Linked DNA regions of Homo sapiens: regions 1, 2, 3, 5, 6 and 7 are each linked to region 4. The links are contacts of gene promoters, found by promoter capture Hi-C in blood cells and fetal thymus (Javierre and others, 2016). All regions are on one chromosome and are shown on one strand. The core of a region is centred on a gene start or on the middle of the fragment in contact, and the rest is flanking DNA. Distances in the headings are between cores, read along the strand shown. Region 1 holds the start of RAB33B (RAB33B, member RAS oncogene family). Region 2 has its middle 5.0 kb from the start of RPS3A. Region 3 overlaps ELF2 (E74 like ETS transcription factor 2). Region 4 holds the start of OTUD4 (OTU deubiquitinase 4). Region 5 overlaps NDUFC1 (NADH:ubiquinone oxidoreductase subunit C1). Region 6 has its middle 2.4 kb from the start of PLRG1. Region 7 overlaps NOCT (nocturnin).

The links. The method cuts DNA at HindIII sites, captures the fragments that hold promoters and counts their contacts. A CHiCAGO score of 5 or more calls a contact.
Region 1: a contact is called between a fragment that was not itself captured here and the fragment with the promoter of OTUD4 in region 4, in 2 of 17 cell types (non-activated CD4 T cells and naive CD4 T cells). The highest score is 12.3, in non-activated CD4 T cells.
Region 2: a fragment that was not itself captured here is called in contact with the fragment with the promoter of OTUD4 in region 4 in 1 of 17 cell types (neutrophils); the score reaches 5.9 in neutrophils.
Region 3: a fragment that was not itself captured here is called in contact with the fragment with the promoter of OTUD4 in region 4 in 2 of 17 cell types (total CD4 T cells and naive CD4 T cells); the score reaches 9.8 in total CD4 T cells.
Region 5: a contact is called between a fragment that was not itself captured here and the fragment with the promoter of OTUD4 in region 4, in 1 of 17 cell types (non-activated CD4 T cells). The highest score is 6.2, in non-activated CD4 T cells.
Region 6: a fragment that was not itself captured here is called in contact with the fragment with the promoter of OTUD4 in region 4 in 1 of 17 cell types (total CD4 T cells); the score reaches 5.3 in total CD4 T cells.
Region 7: a fragment that was not itself captured here is called in contact with the fragment with the promoter of OTUD4 in region 4 in 1 of 17 cell types (activated CD4 T cells); the score reaches 5.0 in activated CD4 T cells.

The regions. Positions count from the first base shown.
Region 1 is chr4:139,452,462-139,455,161 of GRCh38, reverse strand. It overlaps RAB33B (RAB33B, member RAS oncogene family), which reads right to left and starts at 1,041. Exons shown (of 2, transcript NM_031296.3): 1 at 718-1,041. The coding sequence starts at 966. It overlaps RAB33B-AS1 (RAB33B antisense RNA 1), which reads left to right and starts at 1,121. Exons shown (of 1, transcript NR_159964.1): 1 at 1,121-2,700. RefSeq lists enhancers at 744-793, 1,414-1,753 and a silencer at 1,014-1,343. The HindIII fragment of the contact is 749 bases long and covers 934-1,682 here.
Region 2 is chr4:151,093,275-151,095,974 of GRCh38, reverse strand. No RefSeq gene overlaps it. Among named protein-coding and RNA genes, the nearest start is that of RPS3A, 5.0 kb to the left of the region's middle. The HindIII fragment of the contact is 5,246 bases long and covers 1-2,700 here.
Region 3 is chr4:139,077,910-139,080,609 of GRCh38, reverse strand. The region is part of intron 4 of ELF2 (E74 like ETS transcription factor 2); the gene reads left to right. Among named protein-coding and RNA genes, the nearest start is that of NOCT, 63 kb to the right of the region's middle. The HindIII fragment of the contact is 4,123 bases long and covers 1-2,700 here.
Region 4 is chr4:145,179,254-145,181,953 of GRCh38, reverse strand. It overlaps OTUD4 (OTU deubiquitinase 4), which reads left to right and starts at 1,365. Exons shown (of 21, transcript NM_001366057.1): 1 at 1,365-2,139. The coding sequence starts at 1,981. RefSeq lists silencers at 959-1,358, 1,449-1,678, 1,799-2,258 and enhancers at 604-1,433, 1,434-2,263. The HindIII fragment of the contact is 3,984 bases long and covers 1-2,700 here.
Region 5 is chr4:139,293,474-139,296,173 of GRCh38, reverse strand. NDUFC1 (NADH:ubiquinone oxidoreductase subunit C1) reads left to right here. Exons shown (of 6, transcript NM_001184989.2): 3 at 214-442; 4 at 1,028-1,131. The coding sequence starts at 376. Among named protein-coding and RNA genes, the nearest start is that of NAA15, 6.7 kb to the left of the region's middle. RefSeq lists an enhancer at 20-583. The HindIII fragment of the contact is 2,778 bases long and covers 1-2,694 here.
Region 6 is chr4:154,551,483-154,554,182 of GRCh38, reverse strand. No RefSeq gene overlaps it. Among named protein-coding and RNA genes, the nearest start is that of PLRG1, 2.4 kb to the right of the region's middle. RefSeq lists an enhancer at 1,772-2,066. The HindIII fragment of the contact is 277 bases long and covers 1,256-1,532 here.
Region 7 is chr4:139,019,200-139,021,899 of GRCh38, reverse strand. All of the region lies in intron 1 of NOCT (nocturnin), which reads right to left. Among named protein-coding and RNA genes, the nearest start is that of NOCT, 4.8 kb to the right of the region's middle. The HindIII fragment of the contact is 438 bases long and covers 1,169-1,606 here.

The DNA.
Region 1 (2,700 bases), core at 59-2,558, 5.7 Mb after region 4:
TCCACTATTACTGTCACTCAGTGTCCCCAGTCCCAGGGACCAAAAATAACGACTTAAAGGGAATAAAGAATTGGGCGTGTGTCTGAGGTGGCATCATGAGAAATGCTTTTGGCAACCTGAGTAGGAACTATCACATATAGAATGTTTCTGCAGGAAAATAGATTTTTCTAAAATCAGTATCATAAAGAAACTACTACAGCAAAACTGTATGCAAGAGAATACCTAAGTACTTCCTCAAAGGCAATAGGCTTTACTTCCACAACATCTAAGGCACTGCTCGAATGAATGTTTAATAACTATTACTGATTAAATGAATTTTCCATTCTCGCGCAATTTCACTGTTTTTCCTCCGTTCATATTTGACTGACTCCCAGCACACGACACACACAGTAAATGGGTCGGTAGATAAGCCCTACACTCCTGAACTCAAAGTGTGGTCCACGGACTAGCTGCACCTGCATCATCAGCGAGATTATTAAATCATAGCCTGCATTTTCAAAAACAAGATCCCCAGGTAAATCGCATGCACAATGAAGTCTGAGAAACGCTGCCTTAGAAGTTTGCAGTATTGCAATCCTTCCAATCCCCAACTCCAATCTCATCAGCGTGAGAAAAAAATGGAGCGCACACACACCGTGCACACGGCCAGCGACCAGCCCACGGTGGGGTTGGGACACCTGTCACCCTGTCCTCCCCAACAGTTCCCCATCCGCTCACCTTGATGCGCTCCCCATCAATCTCCACCGCTCGTTCTCGGAAATCCACCCCTATCGTGGCCTCGGTGCGGTCGGGGAAGCGGCCAGCGCAGAAGCGGTAGGTCAGGCATGTCTTGCCCACATTGGAGTCGCCGATCACGATTATCTTGAAGATGCGGGAGCGGGCAGGAGGCAAAAACCCTGAGGCCCCTGACACTGCCCCGCTGGACGAAAAGCTTGCCTCGAGCGACGACTCCATCTCCTCAGCCATTCCCCCGACCCGCCCCAAACTGAGGCGGAGGAAAGGAGACACAGAAAGGCTGAGAGATTACGCCACCGCAAGAGCGCGCGCCCAGCCGGCCAGTTCGGCTGCGCAACTTCCCAGGAGCCACCGCCCACCAGCCCCGAGCGCGCCTGCGCACCTTCCCGCCCCGCCCTTGCCCGCACAGGTGTGGCACCCGCCCGCCCCGCCGCACGGAGCCGCCTGCCCGCGGCCACACGCCAGGCGTCACTCGGGCTGGCGCCGGTCTACCTAGGCAGGCGTGGGACCTGTCGGGGGCTTCACGGCAGCGCGGAAGGCCAGCCTGCAGAGAGGCTGGGCCCAGCGCCCTGACTGACCCAGCCCCGCCACGTCCAAGGTTCCCGCCCTCTGGAGGAAGCCGCGCAATCACTCCGGGGGCGGGGAGAGACAGACAACTGAGAGGAAGGAGGTACCACGGGCACTCTCTCGCGAGAGGGCCGCAGAGCCGCCTTTGACGGGGGCGTGTACCTGGAGAGCAACGGTAAGGACGGAGCCGACGGCTCCGGCGTCGGGTCGGTTCCGGCATCGACGTATCGTTTGGTCGCCCCAGAGAGGAGACAGGTTTCTTCAGCTTGCCGCTGAGGATGTGGCATCGGCTGCGCTCACCGCCGCCGCCTCTGTGAACTGCGGGAGTTGGGACAGCGGCCAGGGCTAGATGGGTGGGACGCGAGTCCTCGCCGAAAGCTTGCCCTGTGCGGGGCGCACTTGGAGGCGAGCTCTGGGCCGTGGCGAGTTTTGCAGCCTAAGGTCTTGGCAGGCGCATTGCTGTGGGCTGCCGGAGAGCAGGCTGGAGTTCGAGACCGCCCACCGGAGAGCAGGCGAGAGTTCGAGGCCTAGGTACAGCGCATTTCGCTAGGCATCCCCAAGAATATCCGCGTGATCCTTGTGGCCAGAGTTTGTTGAGCTAATATCCCCAGCCCAAACAGTAGAGCACATCACATGTCGGCCACCTGGGAGCGTTGAACCTGGTAGTTACTAGGCGCCCCTGGTGGAAATAAAACTCATTATGCCCTAGTTATGTCTTAGTGCCTGGGTGACGATGATGTAGCGGTTAAAGATTAACTGAGCGCACTTAGAGGTTGTCTTTGTCTACCTAAGGAAAATATCAATAGATTAAACCCCCAACCTTAAAGAATCTCCGTGAATTTTTCTGAGGAAACGTGCAATATTGTCATACAAAAGGCCCCAAATATGCAAACATTGCTTTTTGTTAAAAGTTTGTTTTGTTTTGCAGTGACATCTGTTTGAGCAGATGAATATGCCATTGGGAAAGTCAAGGACTGTCGGAGAGGAGGACATGGCAGACCTTAACTAAAGTGAGGGGGACAGTAGAGCACTAAAAGTTCTAGGAAAGGAGATGAACTGCTTATTCCATCAGATGAAAATATAGTCAGAACAGATGAGTAGTAGAACTTAAACATGCCCGGAGTTGCCAGGAATTTGCAAAAGCCTTGATATAATTCCTGTTGCTGTAGAAAGACTTTCTACAGTCACTAATATATCAAGTTATGTTCACTAGAAAAAAAGTTTACTTAGTTTATAGAAATGGGCTGAAAAATCCTAATTACTTATCTGTGAGGTTATTTTCATGAAGGTTAATCATCCAGAAACTATTAGAGAGCCTCGGAATATATTTCTTCTAATCTGCTCTACCTATCCCATTCAAAGGAGGGAATCTGAAGATTTAAGGACAAAGAGCAGTTG
Region 2 (2,700 bases), core at 150-2,649, 5.9 Mb before region 4:
GGGCACTCCCTTTGCTTCACTATCCACACTGCCATCGTTGTTGCTGTTTTAACATGGGAATTGAAACCACTGCACTCCAGTGTGGGTGACAGAGAGACTCCTTCTCAGAAAAAACAAAACAAAACAAAACAAAACACTGCTCGTACTGTAAAAGCACAAGTGCTGGAACTTTCCTTCTAGTCAGCAACATTTCACGAAGTGAAAATCCAGGGCTAGAATCTAGTACAATCACTATTTGGTATCATGTAGGTCTAGGTTCAATCCCACCTTATCACATAGTTTTTTTTGTTGTCATTTTTGGTTTTAAACATTTACTTTAGGTTCGGGGTACATGGGCAGGTTTGTTATATTGGTAAACTCATGTCATGGGGGTTTGTTGTATAGATTGTTTTATCTAAGGTGCTAAGCCTAGTACCCACTAGTTATTTTTTCTGATCCTCTCCTTCCTTCCACCCTCCACCCTCCATTCTCAAGTAGTCCCCAGTGTCTGTGTTCTCCTCTTTGTGCCCATGTGTTCTCATTATTTAGCTCCCACTTATACACTTATAAGCGAGAATGTAGTATTTGGTTTTCTGTTCCTGTGTTAGTTTGCTATGGATAATGGCCTCAAGCTCCATTCTTGTTCCTGAAAAAGACATGATCTTGTTCTTTTTTTATGGCTGCGTAGTAGTCCATGGTGTGTATATACTACATTTTCCTTATCCAGTCTGCCATTGATGGGCATTTAGGTTGATTCCATGTCTTTGCTATTATCACGTAGCAGTTTGACTTCAGAAAAATTTTTAATCTTTCTGAACTTGTTTTCTCATTACCATATTAGTTCAGTTCAAGGCTGCCATGTTGGACAATTCCAGGAGAGCCACTCACATAGATTGCACAGGGAGTTACACAACAACTTGGTTCAGAAGCTGTAACAGAGACTTAAATAACAGTGGCATAAACAAAGTAGAAGTTGGCCAGGTGCAGTGGCTCACGCCTGTAATCCCAGCACTTTGGGAGGCCGAGGAGGGCGGATCATGAGGTCAGGAATTTGAGACCAGCCTGGCCAACATGGTGAAACCCCATCTCTACTAAAAATACAAAAATTGCCTGGGTGTGGTGGCAGGCACCTGTAGTCCCAGCTACTCGGGAGGCTGAGGCAAGAGAATCGCTTGAACCCAGGAGGCAGAGGTTGCAGTGAACTGAGATCGCGCTGTTGCACTCCAGCCTGGATGACAGGGCGAGACTCTGTCTCAGAAAAAAAAAAAAAAAACAAGGTAGAAGTTATTTCTCACTTATGTGACAGTCCAAGTGGATGCAGTCCAGGGCTGATGATGTGTATGCCCCATAGTGTTGGTTACCTAGGTGTCAGTGATTTCATCAGTCTTATTACTCTGCTATCCATACTGTGCTGTCATCCATGTGGTCTGGAATGAAAAGTCAACATTTACGCTGGGCGTGCAGTGGCTCATATCTGTAATTCTAGCACTTTGGGAGGCCAAGGCAGGAGGATTGCTTGAGCCCCAGAGTTCAAGGCTGGAGGGAGCTGTGATTGTACCACTGCACTCCAGCCTTGTTGACTTGTCTCTAAAAAATAGAAAGAAAAGTCAACATTTAGTCCAGCAGAGAGAGGGAGAAGCAAAGAGGAGGGCACATTCCTTTCCTTACACAGTACCATCCACAAGTTACACACATCCATTCTGCTCATGTCACTTTCCTGTGTCCCTAGCTACGAGACTGGCTGAGAAATGTAATAATAGAACTTAGCAGAAAAGCCATGTGCCCACCAAATATTCTGTTACTTTCCAAGAAGGGAAGAACAGATATTTAGGAACAATTATTATCTGTCTCCCTTACTTATAAGGTTTTTGTGAAAATTAAATGCATAGCAAAATATCTGGCATAAAGTAGATGCTCAAAAAAAGTTGCTTCCTTTCATTTTTTTTCCCATTCTTCTTACCCTTACCCTTTTACCAAAAAAGACAACTTATTTCCAACATTTGTTGATTAACAATCCATTTACAACAGATCAATAACAATTGTATAGAGTGAATTTTTTTTCTTTTTCTTTTTTATTTTATTTTATTGAGACAGTGTCTCACTCTGTTGCCCAGGGTGGAGTGCAGTGCTTACTGCAAACTCTGCCTACTGCAGCCTCCCACCTGGGTTTAAGTGATTCTCATTCCTCAGGCTCCCAAGTATCTGGGACTACAGGCGTGCGCCACCGTGCCCAGATAAGTTTTTTGTATTTTTAGTAGAGACAGAGTTTCACCATGTTGGCCAGGCTGGTCTTGAACTCCTGACCTCAGGTGATCCACCCATCCCAGCCTCCCAAAGTGCTGGGATTACAGGTGTGAGCCACCATGCCCGACCAATTTTTTTTTCTTAACTGGCTAATCGCAAAGTTCATACATCTGTAAAACTGTGGAATACAATGCGTGAAAGATTCTGAATATAAACCAAAAATAAAATTCTAAGCCCCCAACCAACTGAACGGACTCCTCCTGTCAGCTAAGAGCATTCCAAAGTAAACCTAAAACACTAGTTCAGGCCATGATGGGTCAGACATACCTCATTATACCCTCCTCCCCTTGGAATTCAGGTGCAACTGACCAGCATTAACATTGACAGAGACCTTAAGACTGACAAAGCCAACTCTTGTGGCAAGAAGATACCAACATGACAGATAGTGGGCCCTGAAAGAAATAAAATATTCTATCC
Region 3 (2,700 bases), core at 183-2,682, 6.1 Mb after region 4:
TTATTTTATTTTTACATTTGCGAAATAAGGTAATCAGAAGTTTTGGTCAACAATGCAGTTATTAAATGAAGGTGAAATTTTTCTGGAAATTTAGCCTAAATATTTTCACTGACAGAAAACAAATCTATTTTATTAAAGTTCATTATGAAATTGAAAATCTCATTTCTGATTTACTATAAATTGGAATATGTAGTCTCAATCTTGAAAAGATCAAATTGAAAAAAAATTAGCAGTATGAAAAGAAGTTAAAAGCAGTATGTGAATAGATACATTAAAATGAAACTCAAGGAATGACACTAGTTTTCTTTTTAAAAAGCTCATTTGAAAATGAATTTAAGAAATTACCCTTCACAATTCATTGCAGCATTGGTACTAAAATTCATGTAAAAACTGAGTTACATGGTCACATCAGTCAGTGTGTAAATAGCCAATCAGAATCATTCAACATAAAACTATTTTAGAAACAAATTTGGTTGGTGGAGAAGGGCAGGCAGCAGAATGTTCTTGATAACTATTTAAAATAATTCCTCATGTTTGATAATTGTTTAAAATGATTCCTTGTGTCATCTATAGCAAAATGTTCAAAAGGATGCAAAGAAATGCTTAAGAAGAGCTTTTTAAAAACCATTTATCTGTGAGTAGACAAATACTGTTTTACTTACAGAATCATAATTTTTATTTTTTTTACATTTATTTTATTTTTTGAGATGGAGTCTCCCTCTGTCGCCCAGCCTGGAGTGCAGTGGCACAATCTTGGCTCACTTCTGCCTCCCAGGTTCAAGTGATTCTCCCACTTCAGCCTCCCAAGTAGCTGGGATTACAGGCGTGAGCCACCACTCCTGGCTAATTTTTGTATTTTTAGTAGAAATGGGGTTTTACCATGTTGGCCAGGCTGGTCTTGAAATCCTGACCTCAGGTGATCCACCTGCCTTGGCCTCCCAAAGTGCTGAGATTATAGGTGTGAGCCACAGCTCCTAGGCTAGAATCATAATTTGTCATCTACACCCTGATGTTTATGTTTAGAAGCTAAAACTTATATAAGCATGGGGATAGAATTTGGTTGTTATTAATTACAGTTGATGAATTACAGCTGCGCTTCTCAAAAACCAAACTCTCTGACCCGGATTCTGGGAGTCCCAAGAGCCTTTCACAGGATCTGTAAAGACAAAACTGTTTTGAAAATAATACTGGGACATTATTTGCCTTGTCACTTTCAAAAGTGTACAGAGGAGTTAGGAGCTATGTATAGATGGGTTATTCCAATAGATTGAAAGAGGAAGGAGAATTCAGCTGCCTTCTATTGAATCAAGTATAATAAGATTTGCAAAAATGTAAAAAACAAAGCTACTTACTTTTTGTTTTTTATTTTAAGTTATTTTTGGCCAGGCATGGTGATTTATGCCTGTAATCCCAGCACTTTGGGAGGCCAAGGCAGGAGGATCTCTTGAGTCTGGGAGTTTGAGACCAGCCTGGACAACATAGTGAGACCCTCGTCTCTAAAAAAAAAAATCAAAAAATTAGCTGGGTGTGCTGATGCGTGCCTGTGGTCTCATCTACTTGAGACGCTGAGGTAGGAGGATCACACCCCAGGAGATCTAAGCTACAGTGAACCATGATCATGCCACTGCATTCCAACCTGAGCAACAAAGCGAGACCTTGTCTCAAAAAACAGTTATTTTTCATAAAAAATGTTATTTATGGTTGCAGTAATGGGTGTATTATTTTAAATGAATTAATAATTTTGAAGTTTTCTTTGTAATTTCAAATATGATAAATACAGATAAAATCTCGAGGTCTTCAGTATTTTGAGTGTAAAAGTGTCCTCAGATAAAAAAGGTCGGAGGATAGCTGAATTACAGTGTTGTTTAGGTCTGTACTGTATGGTAGCCACTAGCCGCATGTATCTGAGTACTTAAAATGTAGCTAAGAAACTCAATTTTTAATTTTAATTAATTTAAACTTAATTTCTGGCTGATCTCATCTTGCAGAGGGCAGTTCGCTCTCCCCCTCCGAGAGTGTAAAAAAAAAAAAAAAAGAATTGCCATTCTTTTTCCTTTTTATACTTTATAATGCAAGTATATTGATTAAAAGGTCAAGGGGGAAAAGGTGAAGATGGAGTATTCCAGACCTTTAATTACCTTTTCCCCCTTTTTATTGCCTTCATTTGTATTCTTCATTTACCTATTACTGGTATAGCTTTGGGGCATTAGAGGATAAGTAGTGGTAAATCGGGTGCTGCAGTTGACTGAAGACCTTGTACTATTAGTTTATAGTGTTGCTTATAGGAGAATACCACTATCACCTAATGAAGTGTTTTCTAATTTTTTTTCACTGCTCTCAAACTAAATTGCTACTAAATTTTATTTTTGACTTGAGAACATTTTTATGAACTAGATCCATTGCCAGCATTCTTTTATGCAAAGCTGAGAGGTATGCCTCTTGTCAGACTTAATTACCAAGTTTGGTATTTTGTAACAGCTGTTGAGTGAGTCTGGAATAGTCTTCAGTACCATACAAACACCGGTTGATTAGAAAGATAGAAATGGAACAAGAAGATATTTACCAATATTAAATGAAGGTACAAGCAAATATTATTTTTGGTACTGTAATAAAAAGTAAAACAGTTCTTGAAATTTATTTCAAGGGGGATTGACCAGCAATAGCCACTACCAGTGGTAACTAGAAAATGATACCTGTCAG
Region 4 (2,700 bases), core at 116-2,615:
TTTCTCCATGTTGGTCAGGCTGGTCTCGAACTCCTGACCTCAGGTGACCGGGCTGCCTCGGCCTCCCAAAGTGCTGGGATTACAGGCGTGAGCCACCACGCCCAGCTGAAACTATACTTTTCTAAACCTGATTTCAAAGTGTTTCTTCGCTACAACAAGTAAATTTGAGGCAGGGACATTTTTTCATTTAGGTAACGATAACGTTTGTATTCTCTAAAAGCAGCATAATTTGAGATACAATATTTAAACATTAAGAAATCAAAGACGCTCCAAGGAAAGTGAATACATGACTGATTGCTTGCACTGAAAATACTGAAAAGTGTCTAACGTAGTTTTTAAAAAATTTTTGTCGTTGGACTCTCACCACCTGGCCTGCCTTGCCCCCCATTCCAAGGTATTTGACTACATGTCTAAACCTATAGTAATGCTCCCTTTTCTTCTCCCTCTCCTCCACCATAGCCTAAAAGACTGAATTAGTTCCTATGATTAACCATGTATTTAAATAAGGACACCAGATGTTGTATCTTAGCAAAATAAAATTTTGGTGCAACAGAAGCATGCTGGATAAATTCTGGGTTCTAAAGCATAATTTAACTTTGTCAATTCCCTGCCATTCAACGTCGGAGGGTGGGAAGTTGAGCTGAAGCCTCGAGCACTGGTGGAAGCCATGGCCAGTCCAGTCAGCATGTTATCAAGCAATTTACAAGATGAATTTTTTAAGGGGGAAAAAAAAACCCTAACGTCTTCCGACAGTGACATGTCTCTGTGATGGGGTGCTCAGCTACAGTGACAGGGTGAACAAAAATGTCTTTGGCAAAGCCTTCATCTTGCCGTAGTACGTGAGCTGTACTACTAATAGCAATCAGCAGTCCACGGTTGATTTATGGACAGAGTGTGTCGTCCCGCACCGTGCCAGTTCCCGGAGCCTCAGCCAATTAGCTCTATTTTCTGCTTAAGCCGTTAAAGCCACCTCCATGGAAACACCAGGAGAGCAGGCCGGGGGGAAGGGAGCAGACAGGTGCGCCCTCTGGAAAGAAATACACAAAGGGCCGACACTGCGCCGCCGTGTCCCTGGCAACTCCACGCCAGCCCGGCGCGCGCGATTCCCGCGGCGCAGCGGCAGGGTTGGCGGGTGGCGCGCGCAGGTCGCCCCACATCGGCCGGCGGAGCCCCTCGGCCTGCTCGCGGACGCGGCGCCAGTGCAGCGCGAAGCCGGCTTGGGGCGGTGGCGGTGGCGGCGGCGCGCCCGCGCTGTAGGGACTTGTAGTCCGCGCGCCTCCCGGGCACCTCCCCCGGGTAGGCCGGCCAGCGCGTCCCCGCCCGCCGCAAGCCGACTTCCTGCGGCTGCCAAGACTACATCTCCCGCCGTCCTCTCCGCTGTCGGGCCGAAAGCGAAAACAAATTCTGGGCTGCGAGGTGCTGTTCTCTCCCGGGCGCCCCCACCCGCTCCCTGCCCCTCCGGCGCCCTCCAGCGAGGTGGGGAAACGAAAGGCCGCGTCTTTCTTTTTGGTTTCCTCGGCTCCCGGCGTGGGGAGTGCGCGGGGGCGCAGGCCCCGCTTCACCTGAGCCGGCCCAGCGTGCGCGCCAGGGGCGGGGGTTTTCTCGCTTCACACCGGTACGGAGGAGGAAACTTGTGGGGGCGGCGACCCCCGGCCTGGGTCCTGAGTCAGGCAGCGAGGCCGTCGGGAAGTGACTACTCACTCTCGGGGTTTTCCTTAATCCCGCTCCCCCCGTTTGTCGTGGGCGCGTGTTCGCTCCGAGGAGGCGGCCGCGTGCGGACAGCCATGCATTAGGCAGGGCTTCCCTATGCGCCCGGAGAGCGCGGACCGCTGCCTCGGGCCGCCGCCGCCTGCCGCCGCTCGCGGAGCCCGAGCCCCAGCCCGAGCCGCCGCCTGCCCCAGGCCGGGGCGTCGAGCAGCCGGCGGCCTGGCCATGTGGGGCTAGCCCTCGCCGCGCCTGGCCTGCAGCAGGACCAGCAACATGGAGGCTGCCGTCGGCGTCCCCGACGGCGGGGACCAGGGCGGCGCGGGGCCCCGCGAGGACGCGACGCCCATGGACGCCTATCTGCGGAAACTGGGCTTGTATCGGAAACTGGTCGCCAAGGACGGGTCGTGCCTGTTCCGGGCCGTGGCGGAGCAGGTAATTGCGGGGGGGCGGGGAGGGCTTCGAGGGGAGGCGGGGACGGCCCGGCGGGTCTGGGTGGGGAGGCAGCTGCGGGCTGTCCGGGCCGCCCACGGCCGGGGCTGCGCGTGCCCTGGCTGTCGTCACAGCGCCCCATTGTAACGCCGGAGTGGGACGCTGCTTTGCGTCTGAAAGGTGCAAATTGAAACTCGAAAGCCCGCAAATTAACGGGGTGTCTCTCTCCTGATGAAGAGGTAATGAGTTGAGGACAACTTGTGAGGCCTGCTCGGAGCTTGTACAGTTGATTTATTGCTGGGGACCTGGCGACATGATATTTTTTACTTTTGTTCCGCATTCACCTTCCTTCCCTTCGTTTGAGAAGCACCACGCTCACCCCACTCCAGTAAACCAAGTGTTTACTAGAAGTGGTGGATCAAACTTTACTTGTGGAACATATTTTGGTTTGCTGCTGGACTTTGGAATGTAGGGTAGGCAAGCTCGCCCATGTCACTTGAATCAAATGGGCAAACTGCCGTTTGAGAAAACCAGCCTTTTACAAATATAGAATATTTTGAAGGA
Region 5 (2,700 bases), core at 56-2,555, 5.9 Mb after region 4:
ATACATTAATGCACCGTGCCTGGACCACAGAATTCAATCCAAATGCTAGTTATTATTCAGCACGACACTTTTCTTTCTTCTGGCTCATGTAGGAAAATTTTAATAAACCTCTTGATGAATAGCCGTAGAGATGGGGTGAAAAACCCCCAGAGGACAGAGAATAGGTAAACTCTTTTTTCTTTTAATTATTTTCTTCCTAATTCCACTGTATAGACAGAAGGCTGAGGCCGGGGTGCTAGAGAACCTTGCCGTGCTGGAATTCACGTTGACGCCCCCACGGAGCTCTGCTGCAGAGCCCTCGAGTCCCGCACTTCCGGCCGCCAGGTGGCGCTGGTTCTGTTGCCAACTCGGAGAGACTGAGCTGGGCCACGCAAGATGGCGCCGTCCGCCTTGCTGCGTCCCCTTTCCCGGCTGCTGGCCCCCGCCAGGCTCCCGAGCGGCCGTGAGTATCCTCCTCGTGCAGGCCGACTCGACCCTCAGATTACCCCTCCTAAGGCGGACCCAGCCCACGGGTGCAGGAGGCGGCAGCGGCCCGGGTTCGTCCTGCAGTGACCTTCGCCGGCAGACGACCCAAGGCCCAGCCCACGCCTGTCCCCTACGCAGGGCTCTCTGCTCCCCATCACCCGCCTCTAGCACTTATCCAAGTTCAACCTGACCACTCTTGGCCTTTGTAAATGGACTTTGGGTCCTTGCCTTCCCCACCTCTGTACGTTAGGTCCCGTAAACCGGGAGAGGAGACACCCTCCCCGGGGCGCCCCTTACATGACCACTCCCGAGTCGTCTGAGGGTCCGCAAGCCCTTAAACGAGGCTTTGAAAGCCTCGGACAGGACAGGTGCGTCCTGTCTAACTCGCCAGTGGCCCTGGGCGAGGTACTTGATCTCTTTGAACCTCTATTTCCTTGGCTGTTTAAGTGGGAGATGGGGGAGTTGAAGGGAGAATTAAATGCGATAATACGCACGTAAATGTTAGGGTTTTTTCCCTACAAGGCAGTAAGTTACAAATTTACAGACCCTCTTCCCCTTTCAGCTTCAGTGCGATCAAAGTTCTACGTGCGAGAGCCGCCGAATGCCAAACCTGACTGGCTGAAAGTTGGGTTCACCTTGGGCACCACTGTCTTCTTGTGGATCTATGTAAGTACTTTACTCCCGGATGTCGTGAGACTACACCAGCGTGGTAAGGGAATGACATAACATTGCGAGATTGAATGGTGCTGTTATATGTTGTATGGCAGTGAAACTCTCATAACAGTAGGATATTTATATAATCGCTGATACGTATTTTTCCATAAGAGAAATCCCAAGGACTAAAAAGAAATTAAGATTTCAGCAACATTGAAAAAGTATGATGGGACTAAAATTTCTGTTATTGTTCCTTAACATGGTTTTGTAAGGAATGGCAGTTTTACTAAATAGTAATTATACTTTTTTTTTTTTTTTTTGAGATGGAGTCTCACTCTGTCTCCCAGGCTGGAGTGCAGTGGCGTGATCTCGGCTCACTGAAAGCTCTGCCTCGCGGGTTCACGCCATTCTCCTGCCTCAGCCTCCCAAGTAGCTAGGACTACAGGCGCCCGCCACCACGCCCGGCTAATTTTTGTATTGTTGGTAGAGACGGGGTTTCACCGTATTAGCCAGGATGGTCTCGATCTCCTGACCTATTGATCCGCCCGCCTCGGCCTCCCAAAGTGTTCTGATTACAGGCGTGAGCCACCACGCCCGGCAATAGTAATTATACTTTATTTCTTAATGAGAATTGAGGCTAATTGGAGTTTTATGAAGGTACCTTTTTCAGATGCTGTAAGGACAAACCAGCAGTGTGCAAGTTGTACAAATTGAATCCCAGTAGACTTCCATTAGGTTTTAATCAATGTTTGTATAAATACATTGTTGGAAATTGTACATAGTGTGTAGCGACCTTTTTAAAAAAATTTTCAGGCCGGACGTGGTGGCTCACACCTGTAATCCCAGCACTTTGGGAGGCCAAGGTGGGCGGATCACGAGGTCAAGAGATCCAGACCATCCTGGCTAACACAGTGAAACCTCGTCTCTACCAAAAATACAAAAAAAATTAGCCAGGTGTAGCGAAGGGCGCCTGTAGTCCCAGCTGTTCAGGAGGCTGAGACAGCAGAATGGTGTGAACCCGGGAGGTGGAGCTTGCAGTGAGCCGAGATCGTGCTACCGCACTCCAGCCTGGGAGATACAGCGAGACTCTGTCTCAAAAAAAAAAAAAAAAAAAAAAAAAAAAATTCACACCACATGCTTTACACATAAACTTGCGTTTAATCATTTCAACAACACTACGTGGCACCTACTATTGTTGACCCGTTACAGATAAGAAACACTTGGAGAAACTAGTTTGCTGAACCCAGTTCTCCTGACTTCAGAGGCCACACTATCCTAGAAAAGACTGTGAAACACTGCCTCTGTTGGGATAAAATTTCTTTTTAAAGTTAAAGTATCTGCTATATTAATATTTAAAATTTTGTTTTTTATCTAATGGGTTTGGGACTTCCTCCACTGTCCCCCAGCTCTAAGATATTTTAAATTTTCTTGTTGAAGTGGTTCAGATTTTTGACTTGGAAAGGGGTGAGAGATTTTGAGTCACTTACAACTTAATAGTAACTCATCTTTTTGAATAATGTTGCTTATAATGAATTTTATACATTCTTAATTTAAGGTTTTCTCTAACAAGAAGCTTAATTA
Region 6 (2,700 bases), core at 145-2,644, 9.4 Mb before region 4:
TAAAACCCCATGTCTACTAAAAATACAAGTAATTAGCCAGGCGTGGTGGTGCACACCTGTATTCCCAGCTACTCCGGAGGCTGAGGCAGGAGAATCATTTGAATCCAGGAGGCAGAGATTGCAGTGAGCTGAGATGGTGCCACTGCACTTCAACCTGGCCGGCAGAGCCAGACTCCGTCTCAAAAAAAATTAAGCTCTCAAAGCCACCTAAACCCATATTTAAGTGTACAATATAATAGCTTACTTATTCATTCATTCAATAAATATTGAAAACTTACCAGTTGCAAGTCAATTAGATTCTGACTGTGTGATAGTAAACATCATGCCATATTCACCCCATAAGTCTACTGGGAAATACAGATATTTAAACAAATATTACAACAAAACATTCAGCTAAGAAAGCTGGAACCAAGACATTGTTATTTCTTCTGTGGCAGTATAAACACCAAAAATATTTCTGTAAAATAAAAACATTTGTAAATGCCTGCAAATATTTGTAAGTACAAATTCTTATTTGTAAAGGTAAACAACAAAAGTCATGATTATGTTCAATATTGTCACTTATTTTGTGATATAGTGTTGTGGGTTGAACTGTGTCCCCCCAAATTCACATTATGAATTCCTAACCCCCAGTATCTAAGAATGTGACCTTATTTGGAAATAGGGTATTTTTGGATGGAATTAGTTAAGATGAAGCCATACTGGAGTAGGGTGGGCCTTTAATTCAATATGATTGATGTTCTTTAAGAAGGAGAAATTTGGCATAGGCATATGCACAGTGAGAACGAAATGTGAAGATGAAGGCAGACATGACAGTGATGCAGCAGAAGACAAGAAACGGCAAAGACTGCCAGAGAACTACTGGAAGTTAGGGGAGAGGCATAGAACACATTCTCTCTCACAGCCCTTAGAAGGAACCAACTTTGCCAACGCCTTTATTTCAAGCCTCTTGCCTCCAGAACTGTGAGACAATAAACATTTGTTGTCTAAGCCATCCAGTTTGTGGTACTTTGTTACATCAGCCCTAGCAAACTAATACACATGAGATGGGGCTTCATGTAGTAGAGGATGGTGAAATTGTGATAAGTAAGACCCGAGGACTCTCTCTCTCTCTCTCACACACACACATACACCTTGCTAAGATATTTATAACTGACAGTTTATAACTGATAGTACAATCTAATTATTCCCAAAGTCTTTCCAGGCATTAACAGGAAGAACAGCCCCTTCACTGTTCCTTATAGTCCCAGAAGCTTGTTTCAACTATGCTACAAGAAAGTATCTGCTAACACTACCTTAGTATTTAGGCAAATTCATAGCATTGTGCTAAACAATTAAAGACCAAAGTTTTGGAAGAAATGTCCAAGTATCATTTTTCACAGGTTTTGACCTCAGAAATTCAAATAAACAGTGATAACTCCCATGATTACTTCCTTTTGAATTAACGAACAATTTCAAATATGAAATTTAAGGGATGGACATACTGAGCCACACAACTCTAAAGAACATTGCATATAGTGTTTTTTAAAGCTTGTATATTTAACCCTCTAAGTTGAAACAGAAAAATAAATAGTAATATTTATTATTTTATAAGAATCAGAAAACACTTCCTATAAAAATATCATAAAAAGCTGATGAAAATGGCACTCAAATCTATACTCATATGACCTATCACTGTTCAAGAGCAAAGGACAATATTTGAAGGAGAATAAAAAGAGTTTCTGTATTGGTGAGTTTAAAAAATCTTGCCTAAAGAAGGAGGGCTTTCCTTAAAACTTGTATTCTTGGTTTTACACAGACATAATACTAATAATTTATATTAATAAGTTACTTGCCGTGTCTGCTTTAAGGACAGCCCTGAGGGCCCGTACAAAGAGCAGTGGTGACACCTGCTGTTCAAATAAGGCAGCTTCGGGTGTCAGCCAGGCCATGTGTGTATGACGGAGCCTTTCAGGAATCCAATTAAACTTGTGGATCCTTTCTCCAGAAAATAAAACATATTCCCATATAAATACAAAATTTTCCTACAATATACATAATTCATGAATCCCTGAACTAAATAATAGGGTCACTTGAGTTCTATATTTATCTAAAATATTGTAAACTTTCAAGGGGATGACATCATTCTATAAATTCACGACAGTGTTTTAAAAGGAGCAAATTCGAGGCAATTTACCTCAATCATTACCATGTTGTTATTGAGAAATTAAATTAATGTCTCCAGGATGATTAAATATGTAAAAAGTTAATAGATCCAACTAGACAATTAATATATTGCCATATATATTAGTCTTGCTTAGGTTTCTATGGTTTTATTGTCATTTCAAATCATGTTATTTTCTATAGTTATTATTAATAGGTGAGTATATTATTTAGTTCATCAAGTATATATTTTACAATTATGGTATTTTCTTGCAAGGAAATACCATCACCTGCCACCTTTACAGAAAAGCAATTCTTAGGCCAAACTCACAGTTAAATTCAGAGATGCTGTATCTTCAAGTAAAAACATGACCTTAAGGCAGGGCTCAGTGGCTCATGCCTGTAATCCTAGCACTTTGGGAGGCCGAGGCGGGCGGATCACCTGAGGTCAGGAGTTCAAGACCAGCCTGGCCAACATGGTGAAACGCTGTCTCTACTAAAAATACAAAAATTAGCCGGGCATGGTGGCGGGCGCCTGTAATCCCAGCTACTCCAGAG
Region 7 (2,700 bases), core at 138-2,637, 6.2 Mb after region 4:
GTAGTCCCAGCTACTTGGGAGGCTGAGGCAGGAGAATTGCTTGAACCCGGGAGGCACAGGTTGCAGTGAGCCAAGATTGCGCCACTGCACTCCAGCCTGGGCAACAAGAGCAAAACTGTCTAAAAAAAAAAAAAACCAGAAAAACTGTAATTAGTCACCAGTGACTCCTGACAGCAAATACAGACGCTGTATCTCCCTTCCTAACTCCAAGAAGCCAGAACACAATTACCTCACTTTTCTTTTAGTAAACATCATAGAAACCTCATTTTACTCTAAGTTGTGACTTAGAGTGACTACATGGATACACTCCCATTACAACCTCAGTCTCAAGTTTCCTCTCACTGAACTTTCATTAATATGCAAATTTCTTCCCTTTTTTTTTTCTTTGAGAGTAGCTGGGATTACAGGTGCGTGCCACCACGCCCAGCTCATTTTGTATTTTTAGTAGAAATGGGGTTTCTCCATGTTGGTCAGGCTGGTCTCGAACTCCCGACCTCAGGTGATCCGCCTGCCTTGGCCTCCCAAAGTGCTGGGATTACAGGCTTGAGCCACTGTGCCCGGCCCTGGAATTTCTTCCCTTTCTTAAAAGCTGCTTTTGGCGGGGCGTGATGGCTCATGCCTGTAATCTCAGCACTTTTGGATGGCTGAGGCGGGAGGATTGCTTGAGCCCAGGATTTCGAGACCAGCCTGGGCAACACGGCAAAACCCGTCTCGACAAAATATACAATTTTTTAAAGCTGCTTTTTTCGGGGGTCAATGTTCTTTCTCAGGGGTCTCTTGAACTGCCTTAGGCCCCAAGCTCAAAGATCCTTTTTTTTTTTTTTTTTTTGAGACAGAGTATTGCTCCTACTGTCGCCCAGGCTGGAGTGCAATGGCGCAATCTCGGCTCACTGATACCTCCGCCTCCTGGGTTCAAGTGATTCTCCTGCCTCAGTTTCCGAAGCAGCTGGGATGTACAGGTGTGCACCACCACACTTGGCTATTTTTTTTCTAATGTAAGTAGAGACAGGGTTTCACCATGTTGCCCAGGCTGGTCTTGAATGCCTCAGTTCAAGTGATCCGCACCTCGGCCTCCCAAAGTGCTGGGATTACAGGCGTGAACCACTGTGCCCGGCCAGACCAAAGGTCTTAAGGCTCTTCCAGAATCCTCTCCAGAGCTTCTCAAGCTTTCCAGGAATAAGTACCTTTGGGGAAAGGAGGGGCAGAGCTCATAAATACTCCCTAATCTTTTTGGAAGAATCCCCTGAGGCACTTGTTAAATATGCACTCCACCGGGCTTCTCCACAGGAAACTGATCAAGCAGAGGGCTGAAAGGCCAGAAATCTGCATTTTAACAACTGTCCCAAATGATTCTGCCTCTACCCCTTTTCCTAAGATGCTTGCCACAGCTCCTGCATGCGAGCGCCACCTTCTTCCAGGCATTGTGTGTGTGGTCTTCTCTGCCTGCCCCCACCACCCCGCAAACTGTCCCCTTCCAAAACACCCTCCTTTTTCACCTATTAGAAGCAAAGCATTTCTTGACAAATTCAGCCACACTGATTTCTTTCTTCTCAACTCCCACTGCAATTAGTCATGTCACCTTTTACATGTACTATTCAATAAAGCTTGTGGATAAATTGCTATCAATTGATCTTATTCATTTGTTCTAGGTAAAGTCTAGTGTTGAGACAGCAAGCAAGGTTAAATGATTTACAAATGTTAAGTGTGTGGAATGTGAATCTGGAGCCATGGTTATTAACCCCAAAGAACCCCAGTTCACCATGTTTAAACTGTTGCCATTGAATGCTAACAGAAAAATCATACATTAGTTTTCCCACAAGGAAAGCAATTTATTCCATAGCAGCTTGATAATGACAAGCTTTCCCGTTTCTTCTCTCTCATAAGCAGTTTACTCACATAGTTAAAGGACATATTAAATAAAGCTGCCTTCTCAAATGAGCTGGTGGCATTTGCCTATAAATTGTACCATGAAAAAAAGCAAATGTTCTAATGGTAGAGAACAGTAGTTCAGCCAGCTCTTCATTCTCTGAGGAGGAGGGATGTGGAGGATAGCATTTATAAATCCACAGATGACTTCCAACTGCGTTTCATCCAGTACAGTAACTGTGGCAACTGCTACTTCTTAGGGGGGCTGCTATCCTTGAGAAAAGAAAGCCAAACACCGAGATCATCCCTAGGGTCACCTTTTAATTCTAACAACCTGGAATCTGATAACTCCAAAGGGACTGTACTTATCTTCCCAATAACTACCAATTGCCAAGGGGCATAAGTTATGCAGGAACTGATTAGCAAATGTGGACAGCTGTCGGGACTCACTACTCCCCACCACAAGGCTCAGGAGTGGAGAGGAGCTTTTGGCCCCTTCAATGTCTCTCTCACATATGGGTGCCAGATGTCCAAATTTGAGGGCATAGAAGAACAATCTGGAGTTATTCTTTTTGTCATTTCATTTGGTTATGTGGAATCCAGGGCCCATCATGAATGACTCAGACTTAATAGGTCTACAGTAGGATCCAAGAATCTGCATTTTAAAAAAGCACTTCATAGGCTGGGCGCAGTGGCTCACACCTGTAATCCCAGCACTTTGGAAGGCCAAAGCAGGTGGATCACCAGAGCTGGGGAGTTTGAGACGAGCCCGGGCAACACGTTGAAATCCTGTCTCTACTAAATACAAAAATTAGCCCGGCACAGTGGCGTGTG